Linked DNA regions of Homo sapiens: region 1 is linked to region 2. The links are contacts of gene promoters, found by promoter capture Hi-C in blood cells and fetal thymus (Javierre and others, 2016). All regions are on one chromosome and are shown on one strand. Each heading gives the region's core, a stretch centred on a gene start or on the middle of the fragment in contact. The rest is flanking DNA. Distances are from core to core; before and after follow the strand shown.

What was found. Contacts are between HindIII fragments. The CHiCAGO score rates a contact against its expected background, and 5 or more counts as called.
Region 1: a fragment that was not itself captured here is called in contact with the fragment with the promoter of CDH10 in region 2 in 1 of 17 cell types (endothelial precursors); the score reaches 5.4 in endothelial precursors.

The regions. Positions count from the first base shown.
Region 1 is chr5:31,227,255-31,232,255 of GRCh38, reverse strand. The region is part of intron 1 of CDH6 (cadherin 6); the gene reads right to left. Among named protein-coding and RNA genes, the nearest start is that of CDH6, 36 kb to the right of the region's middle. The HindIII fragment of the contact is 1,696 bases long and covers 2,725-4,420 here.
Region 2 is chr5:24,642,721-24,648,304 of GRCh38, reverse strand. It overlaps CDH10 (cadherin 10), which reads left to right and starts at 3,327. Exons shown (of 12, transcript NM_006727.5): 1 at 3,327-3,711. It overlaps LOC124901174 (a long non-coding RNA gene), which reads right to left and starts at 3,596. Exons shown (of 2, transcript XR_007059125.1): 1 at 3,233-3,596; 2 at 2,791-2,994. RefSeq lists an enhancer at 3,035-3,630. The HindIII fragment of the contact is 4,637 bases long and covers 60-4,696 here.

The DNA of each region.
Region 1 (5,001 bases), core at 2,323-4,822, 6.6 Mb before region 2:
TGAGAACTTCAAACGGCTCAGCTGGAAGCACAGGAATTAGCATAAAGTGAAATATTTATGGGAGCTTAATACTGTTTAAGACTCATTTTCTCCTTGCCTTAAGACATGAAGTCAAATTAACCATTTCTAATTAAAGAGTGAGAAACAAAGTAGTGTAAGACCAGAAGTAGAAGCTAAATGGTGATGCCTAAGTTGTGAAGTCTGAAACAGTCACTTGACATAGAGGTCAAGAATGGGAAGATACAAAATAATTCCTGCAGAACAAGAGAAACAAATCAGGGTGATTTGAAAAGAAACATAATTATAGTAGGCTTACTCTACTCCTTAAGTGAATATTTTTCTTCTAAGAGCAAAGGTCTAAAACTGGACATGGTAATGCCCTTTTATCTCTTTATGTTAGAGGCTGAGCTACAGAGGAAGTGCTATGGTTTGAATATTTATCCCCTCCAAAACTTATGTTGAAATTTAATCCCCAGTGTGGCATTATTGAGACGTGGGACCTTTAAGAGGTTCATGCATGGATTAATGGATTAATGAAATAGTGGGTTAATGAATTAGTGAGTTATCATGGGGAGTAAAGCTGGAGGCTTTATAAGAAGAGGAAGAAAGATCTGAGCTAGCACACTCAGCCTCCTTGCCATGTGGTGGCCTGTGCCACCTTGGGACTCTGCATAGAGTCTCTACCAGCAAGAAAGCCCTCACCAGATATGTCCCCTTGACCTTGGACTTCTCAGCTCTCCAAATTGTAGAAATAAATTCCTTTTCTTTATAAATTACCCAGTTTCAGGCATTCTGTTACGAGCAACAGAAAATGGACTGAGACAGGAAGCGTCCATGAAATATTCAAAATAAGCTGGAACTGCTTTAAATATGATTCATGGGAATTCTGACCCCGCCAAACAGTAATCTGTTAAGGATACTAAAAAGGAAAGAAATTCCCAAAGGGCAAGGAAGACAAAATCCTGGGAATTTCAGGCCAGTCTTTTTCTCCTTATTGCTAAACCACTATGGAGATACGCAATGATTTGATTAAAATATCAATTTTATGCACATAATTTAATTTTAATTGCATCGTGAGTAATCTGTTAAAAAGAGTTTGAACATTTGGCCTCTAAATCATTATAGGCTGAATCACCCTAAGATGAAAATAAGGCAGTGAAGACTGTTATCCAGAAGAAAAGAAAAATATTGCATTTGAATATACTTTCAACAAATGAAAACTATAATTAAAATATAATCATGTGATTAGAAGAATATTTAAAAGAGCATATTGTGTTTCCTGCATATTTTTATATGTGTAGGTTTTACATTTTAAAGAGTTTGTTCGTCTTAACATGGATTTAAGCATTTTGCATAAAGATTCACACTAATCTTTTCATTCACAGTTCATGAAGTCCCCTACAATTGTTTATTAATTAGCATATAATATTTTTACCTGGATGCTATACTGTATTGTTTAGCTTCTTTTGTATACATCTCTAATTTCTCTTTAGAATTATTTTGAGTTTGATTAAACTCAATGGATTTGTTGTTCTACTTGAGGACACAATCAAGATTATTCTGCAGATGGTTTCTAAATCATAGGTTAGTTTTTAAAAAAATAGCATTTTCATTTTTGCACGGAGGATTTGTTTCTCTTTGCTTTGCCTATAAGTTTCTTTTCTCATTTTTCACTGAGTACATTACTCATGGTCTTAAACATCTTCCGCTGCTTTCTTAAAGATGCAACAGGAAGATACATCTGTAGAGGAGGCCTAATGCTTCTGAATTCTCTGTTAATAAATACACTGGAAGTGTATTTTAACGGTGTTTAACATAAATACTTTAATACATACTCTCAGAGACTCTTTTTCTAGTAAGTGAAGGAAAATGAGCCAGACTTTTAAAAAAAGATATTCTCTGCCTGTGATGGTTATACAGACAAACCTGTGTATGATCCCCTAGTGAGTTCTCTATGTCTTTGGAGAAGTCATCTACAGGACAGAGATGACTTTTCTCCCATGCAAGTTAAGTTGATCTTTTAATTTGCAATGGTAGACCCTAAATATCACCTTGAGTGAGAACCTGCAGGAATTCAGAGGCCCTCAACTTCTTAACTGCTGTGTCTAAATTGGGACTTCAGGGCTCTTTCTGTGCCAAAGAGAAAGCAAATTCTCTTCAACTGGGATATTCTGCAAGGAGCGGAATCACTGTTATTTTGACTTTGTTGTTCAGACACGCCACAGTGGCAGCAGAAATAGCATCCGCCAATTAAACGCCCATACAGCATTCAAAGGATATGGAAGATAGAATTTAATTATGAAACAGATGACACTACTCAATCTTAATTGTCATACCAGGATCCAAGTCACTGGCCTGATAATCACCAGCCAGGAGAATGGAGAGCAAAGTCCCTTACGTCACCAAGGGCAAAAAGCCTCAGCCCGTAATTATGCTGCTCCTTAATAATCCCAATTAAGAGCAACAACAACAAAAACACAAAACTTCTTCCTATGTTCTGTGACATTAAGTACTGAGAAATGTTTATTCAGCTACTATGATGGTCCACAATTGCATTTCTCTTTGTCATAATTCATTCTTTCACTAAAAAATCCTTAGGTGGGACTCCGGAGTTTCTTGAATTCTCACAAGTGTTTTCAGAGTTAGAATTCTTTTTACATAAAAAAATTAACCACTTATTGGTTTAGCCAATAATATCAGGGGAACTAGAGACCTATAAAAGCTTCCAAATTGGCACCAGCCATACAGTCGTAAGAGCCAAGCTGCCTTAACAACTTGTTACAAATGCCTAACAGCTCCAGAGAGAAAATATTTTCCTGAGCCTCCAGTTCCTCATTCTGTTTTGCTTTTCTGCAAACTTCACAAAGATAACAGGCAATATGCTTCATTTCCTACCCTCCAATCTATTTTGGCCAAACATTTAATTTCTAACCAGTATGGTGACCAGAACTGGATAACAAGAGGTCTGTTAGCCAGGGTAGTAAAGCACCAGATTTGGAGTCAAACCAGTAGGCTTGCAGTCTTTGTTTTGCCCTTTCTTCCTTTATCACTGACTGAGTCTCTTCACCTTGATCGGACTCAGGTTTTGGAGAATCGGGTAGAGCTTGAGGGCTGTGTTGTAGATTAAATAAAATGATATAGTTTGGGCAGTTGGTACCCTTGGAAATGGCACGCAAGTGCTAGTTAGTATGACGGGTAATTAGACCTGTCAGTGTCAGAATGGAGAAAGAACTAACCTGTATTGAACATCTACTAAGAGTCTATCATTATATAAGGTACTTTTGTACTTTTTATGCCCTATGAGAGATGCATTATTTTCCCCACATTACAGGAAAGGAAATAAATCTTGGAGAGATCAAATAACATGCCTAAGATCAGGGGTTCCCCAACCTCTGGGGCCATGGACCAGTACCAGTCTGCAGCCTGTTAGGAACCCGGCCACACAGCAGGAGGTGAGTGGCAGGTGAACCAGCATTGTAGCCTGAGCTCCGCCTCCTGTATTAGAGGCATTAGATTCTCATAGGAGGGCGAACCCTATTGTGAACTGCGCATGTGAGGGATGCAGGTTGCGTGCTCCTTATGAGTATGTAGCTAACGCATGATGATCTGAGGTGGGACAGTTTCATCCTGAAACCATATCCTCTGCTCACCCCACCACATCTGTGGAAAAATTTTCTTCCACAAAACCAGTTCCTAGTGCCAAAAAGGTTGGGGACCACTGCCTAGGATTGTACAACTGGGTTATTGGCAAAGCTGGGGTGGGAGTCCATGGGTGTCTGACCCTGGGACATACTTTTCTCCATTCCACAAAGTTTGGAATCAAGGTGAATGCAGCTTCCTTCTCCAGCTGATTCACTTCCTGAACCTTGGCACTGGGGATCTGCAGCAGGCAGAACAAAGGCCTTCCAAATATGCCCACGTCCCAATCCACAGAACTATGTTATTAATACCTCACATGGCAAAAGAGACCGCAGATATGGTTAAGGATCTTGAGCTGTGGAGATTATCCTGGATCATCTGGGTGGGTCCAATATAACCACAAAGGTCCTTAGACCTTAAAAGAGGGAGGCAGGTGGGTCAGAGAAGATGGGACAGTGAGGCATGAGTCCGAGACAAAGAGAGAGAGATTTAAACATGCTACACTGTTGGCTTTGAAAATGGCGGAAGGGGCCAAGAAAACAGGTGACCTCTGGAAGCTGGGGATGGTAAGGAAGTGGCTTCTCCTCTAGAGCCTGTAGAAAGAACACAAGCACACCGACAGGCTGATTTTTAGCCCACTGTAATCACCTCTGACCTCTGACCTATAAATCTGTACGAGAATAAGTTTGTATTGTTTTGTGGTAATGTGTTTTGTGGTGTGCGTTGCAGCAGCAAGAAGCAACTAATACTGGTTCCTTGTCTTTTCTGGGTTTCTTAAGCTTCGTTTGTTTAGATGTAGGATGGTTAAGGTAGGGGTCCGTTCCCTCAGGAGGTGGGATGGAGCATGGAGACTGGGCATGTTGATGAGCAGGGAATATCTGAGAAGCACGGCCACAGCTTGTGGCTGACAGGGAAGCTATATTTGATTCTTTACAGAATAAAATTGGAGTTGGAGGCCAAAAGGATGTAAATTCTGGAGGAACCTTGGCAGAAGCCTTGATCTGTGAGGTTTTAGGAAGAGGTTGAAGAACTAGGGTGTTTGCCTCTGATGCACTGCTAGGGAGGGGGAGGTGTACATTCTATTCTAGAACGCTGGGAAAAAGCCAGGAAATATTTCTCTTCTGAACTCCCAAAAACTATAAAGCAAATAACTTCAAAATGTATATGCTTGTTTATTTATTATATTATGCTTATTATATTAATGTACTTCTATACTTGTATACAGTATATGGGACTGGGCAAATAAAAAATATCAGTTGAAAGGGTACATAATGAAAATATGTAAAGTATCCCAAAGCCCAAGTAGATTGTCTTCCACGTCCACCGTGGAGTGGAGGAGAGGGTGAGGAGGGTTTGGGAGAA
Region 2 (5,584 bases), core at 2,078-4,577:
CTAGTGTTTTAAAATAAGCACATAGCTGCTCAGCAAGTAAAGTCTTGTGCAGTTAAGCTTATTGTTTAGCAACAGCATGACAACTTCTAGGCATGTAATAGTTTCATACAAAATGGAAGGTTGTTTCATTTAATTGATTTTACTCAAATTGGATCTTTCACATTTGCAATGAAGAGATCAGCCGTCATTGAGTCCCATTATTATATTAATAATAGAATGCTTTCAAATTTTCTTAGTGCTGTATGATTGTAGTAAGGTATTTTCTGTGCAATTTCCTATTTAGTTTTAAAAGTTGTATATAGAAATATATTTGCAAAAGTTTTCATTAACTTTTATTTGCTTGTAGTTGATATATGGCCTCTCCTCATATTAAAGGACATTTCTGCGAGATATTGACCCATTCATTTCATTGAGAGTTTACTGTCCCTTTTACATTTCATTTATTCATTTCACTTCCCACGTGCTACCAGTTTCCTGATATTGGTAACAACAGGAAAACCCTATCTAATTCACAAGACTATTTCACATAAGATTTGGAGGGAAAATTATAAAGAAATAGAAAAACTTGCAGAATCCTAAGTTAACTCATTTATATTGTGAAATAAAGAAAATGAAAAATAATATTGTTTAATAAAACAAAACCCATTGTCAGAAGTTTTACATTTTAGTCAATGTTCTGTTTATTCTTTATTTTAATTTTAATTACTAGGGCGTATATTCGATAGGATGGCATTTGATCTCAGATATAGAGTCTTTCTAAGATGAGCATTAAGAAAAATGTGAATGGGTTTAATTCATTTATTGTTCAAATGTTTTCCTCTTCATTCTCTCACATCTATAACTAGATCCCCTGAACTTTGGAATACATGGATGCTTTGCCTATTATTTATTAATTATATTACTTGATCAAAAAAAGAAAAAATGCAATAACTGACAATTGTTTCATAAATGTTAAAATATTATTAACGTTATTTTGTATAGATACCTTTCACTAGCATTATAACATAATTTTAATTTTAAACTAGAATAAAAATTTGCTTTTCTCCAAAAAAGTACATTATACCAAATATACTACTCTATAATACATGAATATAATAGACAATCCTGCTGTTTGTACCCAATTCTGTCACCTCCCTAATAGCACCAGTGACTTTAGCTGGGCAAATAGTGAGAGTAAATACCACATCCCCAGCCTCCCTAGCAACAATGTGTGACCAAGTGTCTAAATTCCACCCAATGAGATCATGAAAGTGACATGTACATGTTCAGGGTCACATTTTTCAAAGGACGGGAGCAACTTTCTCTTGTTCCTTTTATTCCTTTTTCTAGAAGGTAGATGTGTGGTGATCTCTCCTGGATCATATAAATGAGTTCAATTCCTTAAAAACATTGAGCATCAAGACAGAAGGAAGCTGAGTTTCTGATGACTAGACAGGGCAGAATAAACACACCAACCAAAAACCTATGTAAGAGAAGCATAAACTATATAATTCAGAAAATGTTATTTTGGGAATACATCATTTCAACATGTATTCTAATTAATAAAATAGCAATTTACCTCAGATCTTAGCCTTTGGTTATTTTCTCGACCCATTTAAATGTAACCCCCAAATTCTTCACATTATGTAGTCATACATTTTGAAATTAGCACTAAACAAACATATGGAAATAGTTAATTTAATAAGAGAACAATGTGTGTGTGTGTACCTAACCTGCTGCATTTAATTAAATATTATAAATTTCTCTTGATAGCTAATTTAACATGTCAATAACAGTATTATATTGAATACACACATATACCAGGCAAACACAAATACACACAAATATACGTATCAGAGGTAAAAAACTGAATATCTATTTTCACTTGACTCTGAAATTAAGGCACCCTGTCGAAGAAAACATACAAAACATAACAAAAACTATGGGCAAATGATACGGTGATAATTCAGAATTCTAGCTCTATTATTATCAAACTTTAGAGGGGCCATAAAATTTTCCTGATCTTAATGCCATCGTCTGTAAAATTAAGAGTTTCAAAAGTCCATTTCTGCTCTAAATGTCATTTAGCTGTTCAGCTCAGTGGAAATGTTTGGTGTTTTCAAATATAAAACTAATTGGTAAAATTCATCATATAATAACACTGTGATACATTAAAACCTTTTTGGAATCTAATTTTGAATCTCCCTCTCACTTCTTTTTTGCCCCTCAGATTGAGTTTCTTCCTTTTTCATTGTGCTGATTATGTAAGGGGCCTGTTGACTGTTAGAATGATCAAACAGGTACAGAGGAGGCAGTATGGCAACCGGAAACAATACTAAACTGGAAGTAGGAGTGTGGTATTACAGCTTTGACCCCGCCTCCAGTTAGTCCTGTGACAATTTAACATTCTGAGCATTTTTATCTGCTAAAGAAATAATAATAATAACAGCCCAAAATGATCTTCGTAATTTCTCCTCTAGCTTTAAAACTATAATTGACATATATGTATTTATATGCATATATGTATGTATATGTGTATATAATTTATTTATGGATGGCACTTTAAAAGGAATCTACCTGTAGCCGGAAAAATGCAAAGATGTTAATTACTTTGTGGAGCTATACTGACATCCTTTGGTAAGGTTTGGTTGATTGCAATTTGATGTGGAGATTGATAAATAGCGAGACAGTTAGATGTTTAAGTAGATAGAACAATCCAAATGTATTTACATCTGTCCACACACTCATTTGGGTATGAAACCCGTATTTATGAGAAAAAACAACGTTAAAAAGAAAAAAAAGGAGACTGTGTCAAGTTCAAAGTCTAAATATTTTAATAACACTAATTACATATTTACATTTTTAATAAAATATTTTATCTATAAAGTATTAAAATGCAAAGATTAGGCAGAGAAGACTGGCTCGCGGACATTCCAAAATGATGAGCGAGGTATGCACTCCTGTGACAATAAGCAACAAGAGAAGGGATTTGGAAAATCAAGCCGAGAAAGTTCCCTGAAAGCAAAAAATAAACATTTAAAATCACAACGAAAAATCACTCTGGTAACATATCAAATCTGGTTGCAATTTGACTTGGCGCTCTGATAATACTTGGATTTCGGTAGTCTGGTGTAAGGACGGTGCAGGAATATATATTCCAGAAGAACTATCTTTTTTTAAAAAAAATTGCAAGAAGCAGTCCTGTTCCTGAGATTGTATTACGGACACAGGCGGATTAGATTGGGCTGATTACCTTAGCCTTGAAACAGAGAGTCTTTCTGCCCTGCGGGGGAGGGGACGCCTTTCAAGCAAAGCCCTCCTCTCGGATGCGCCCTCCCCTCGCATTCACTTGCAAATCGCTGTGTGCTCGCAGAAGCCAGCACTTCCACAGTCTCTAACCTTCCCATGGCGAGTGCTGCAGCTCTATCAGCAGAACCTTTCTCTCCGTGTGAGGAAGAGCTTTTTTCCCCCCTTTCCTTTTTTTTTTTTTTCCTTTCCCCTTAATCAGAAGCACTGAATGAAAGCCAATCAGAGAGAGCTCGCCCCCGTTTTCTTCGGTTCCCTGCTGTCCAGAGTTAAAAGTGATGCTGAGAAAGAGCTTGAGTTAGATTGAAGTAGAATCAGTGATAGAAAATAACAGCCGAAAACAAACAAAAAGGGGACATAGTGACAATTTCTCCTGGGTTATTTTGGCTGGAACCAACTTCCATTATCCAGAAGCTGATAAAAAAGGTAGGAAGACTTCACCTCTTTCTTTTAACTCCGTTAAGGTATTATATATTCCTCCACTTGAGGGGTGGGGGGGGAGAGGGAGGAGATAAATGTTTGTTTTTAAGTTGTGTTTAGCAATTATTTCAAAATAATTATCTTTAATACTTAAATAAGCATACAACTCTATATATTTAATTCTAGAAACAACTGCTTCGAATATCTATATAGGCAATGTAAAGCTGGATAAATTATATATTATGCTCAACAGTGGGTCATGATATTAGAGTTTGTGAATTCATTCACTTGGAACAAATGCTAAAAAATATGTTATGAAGTGAATTTGTCATGCCCAGACTTGTTCATTTTTATTTTAAAAATCAGTTCAAGAGATAACATTGTTACTGTGAACTCTAACATCATCTAACATTACTTTGCATTCCATATGAATGGATTCACTCTGCACTTATTCGTAGTCATAGTTCATTGTACGTTCAATATAAACAGAAATGACAGGCAGAAGACAGATTCCTTGAAACTGTCAATGGTCACTAAGCATCTACATAAATACAATAGATTGACATTCATCAGAAATAGAATAGGCAGAATTCTTATTTTCAATTTTATATCTGAGTCAGAAGTATTGGGGGGAGAGAGGTAAAGAGAGGGAGAGTAAATGCATGTAGTCAGCAGTTGCAGCATTTATTGTTTCTGCTGCAATAAAATCCATATTTTATGTGTTGTTAAATTAATGCAGCATATTGCAAGTATAAATGCATGTCCCCAACAAGTAACTATTGATAGCACTGTAACTATGGGCAAAAGCAGTAGTCTGAAATTGTTTTTATGCCACTAAAATAAAAACCTACTGTCTCCTTATTATGAAAAAAGGGGAGTCTACAGGTACAAAGACAAATATTGTTTTAAAAATGACCTATCATCTTTTGCTTTGAAAAAACAGATGTTTCCTATAATTGTGGTCCTTCATTCCTTCATTCCAGTGAAAGCTTCTATTATCCAAAACTGCACATCCATTACTTCTCAGCTCTTTGGAGATACATTATTTTTTCTCCTCTTTTTTTTTTTCTTGAAGGATCTGTATTAAAAATAATCTGTCCTTCTGATGTTGACAACTGTTATACTTCAATGCATATGTTAGTAGACTTTCTCCCTCCATACCATCCCCCTCTCTATCTTCCTTTAAAACGTAGCTACAAGAGCTTCTCTGTGGTGAATAACACTTGGCAAGAGTGTGCTCATTTTTTAGGTCTGGTATGGTGAGGATTTTTAATTAGTAGAACTTTCATGAAAACATTATGTCATTGACAGAGCCGTATGTTCATTTTTAGTTAAAAGTGATGAAGAAGAAAGAAAGAGGTTATGTCCTAGAAACACAGGTAAATGCTAAGTCGCATAGATAATCTGCACCCCGCTCCCCCGAGTGTACTAAATGTGGCACATATGTATTCAATGTGCAATGCATAAGGAAGTAATGGTTTATTTGGGGAGGGATGTGGTGAAGAGACTGGAGAGTGCACAGGTGTAAACAGCGTGGATCTGTGCCTTAGGGACACGTCAGATGCAAACCCATTCTGATGATAAAAATATAAAGAAATACTTCTTTCACTTTTTTTTTTTTTGGCTGTGTTATTAAAGTGTGAGTCAATGTCTGCTTTCATTAAATCAGATACTTCTTGGGTTTCAAATACTTGCTGTGAACAAATTGACTTCTCTGGTGAATGCATACGCCTTCCCTGACTTCAATCAAAGAATAGAATTTCATACACTTAAAGGTTTGGGGGAAAAAAAACAACAAACAAAACCAAAATCTCTGGGAAATGGGAAAAAAGAAGGTAAACTGTATGAGCATCCACCTACATATGCATATGTGTGAAGT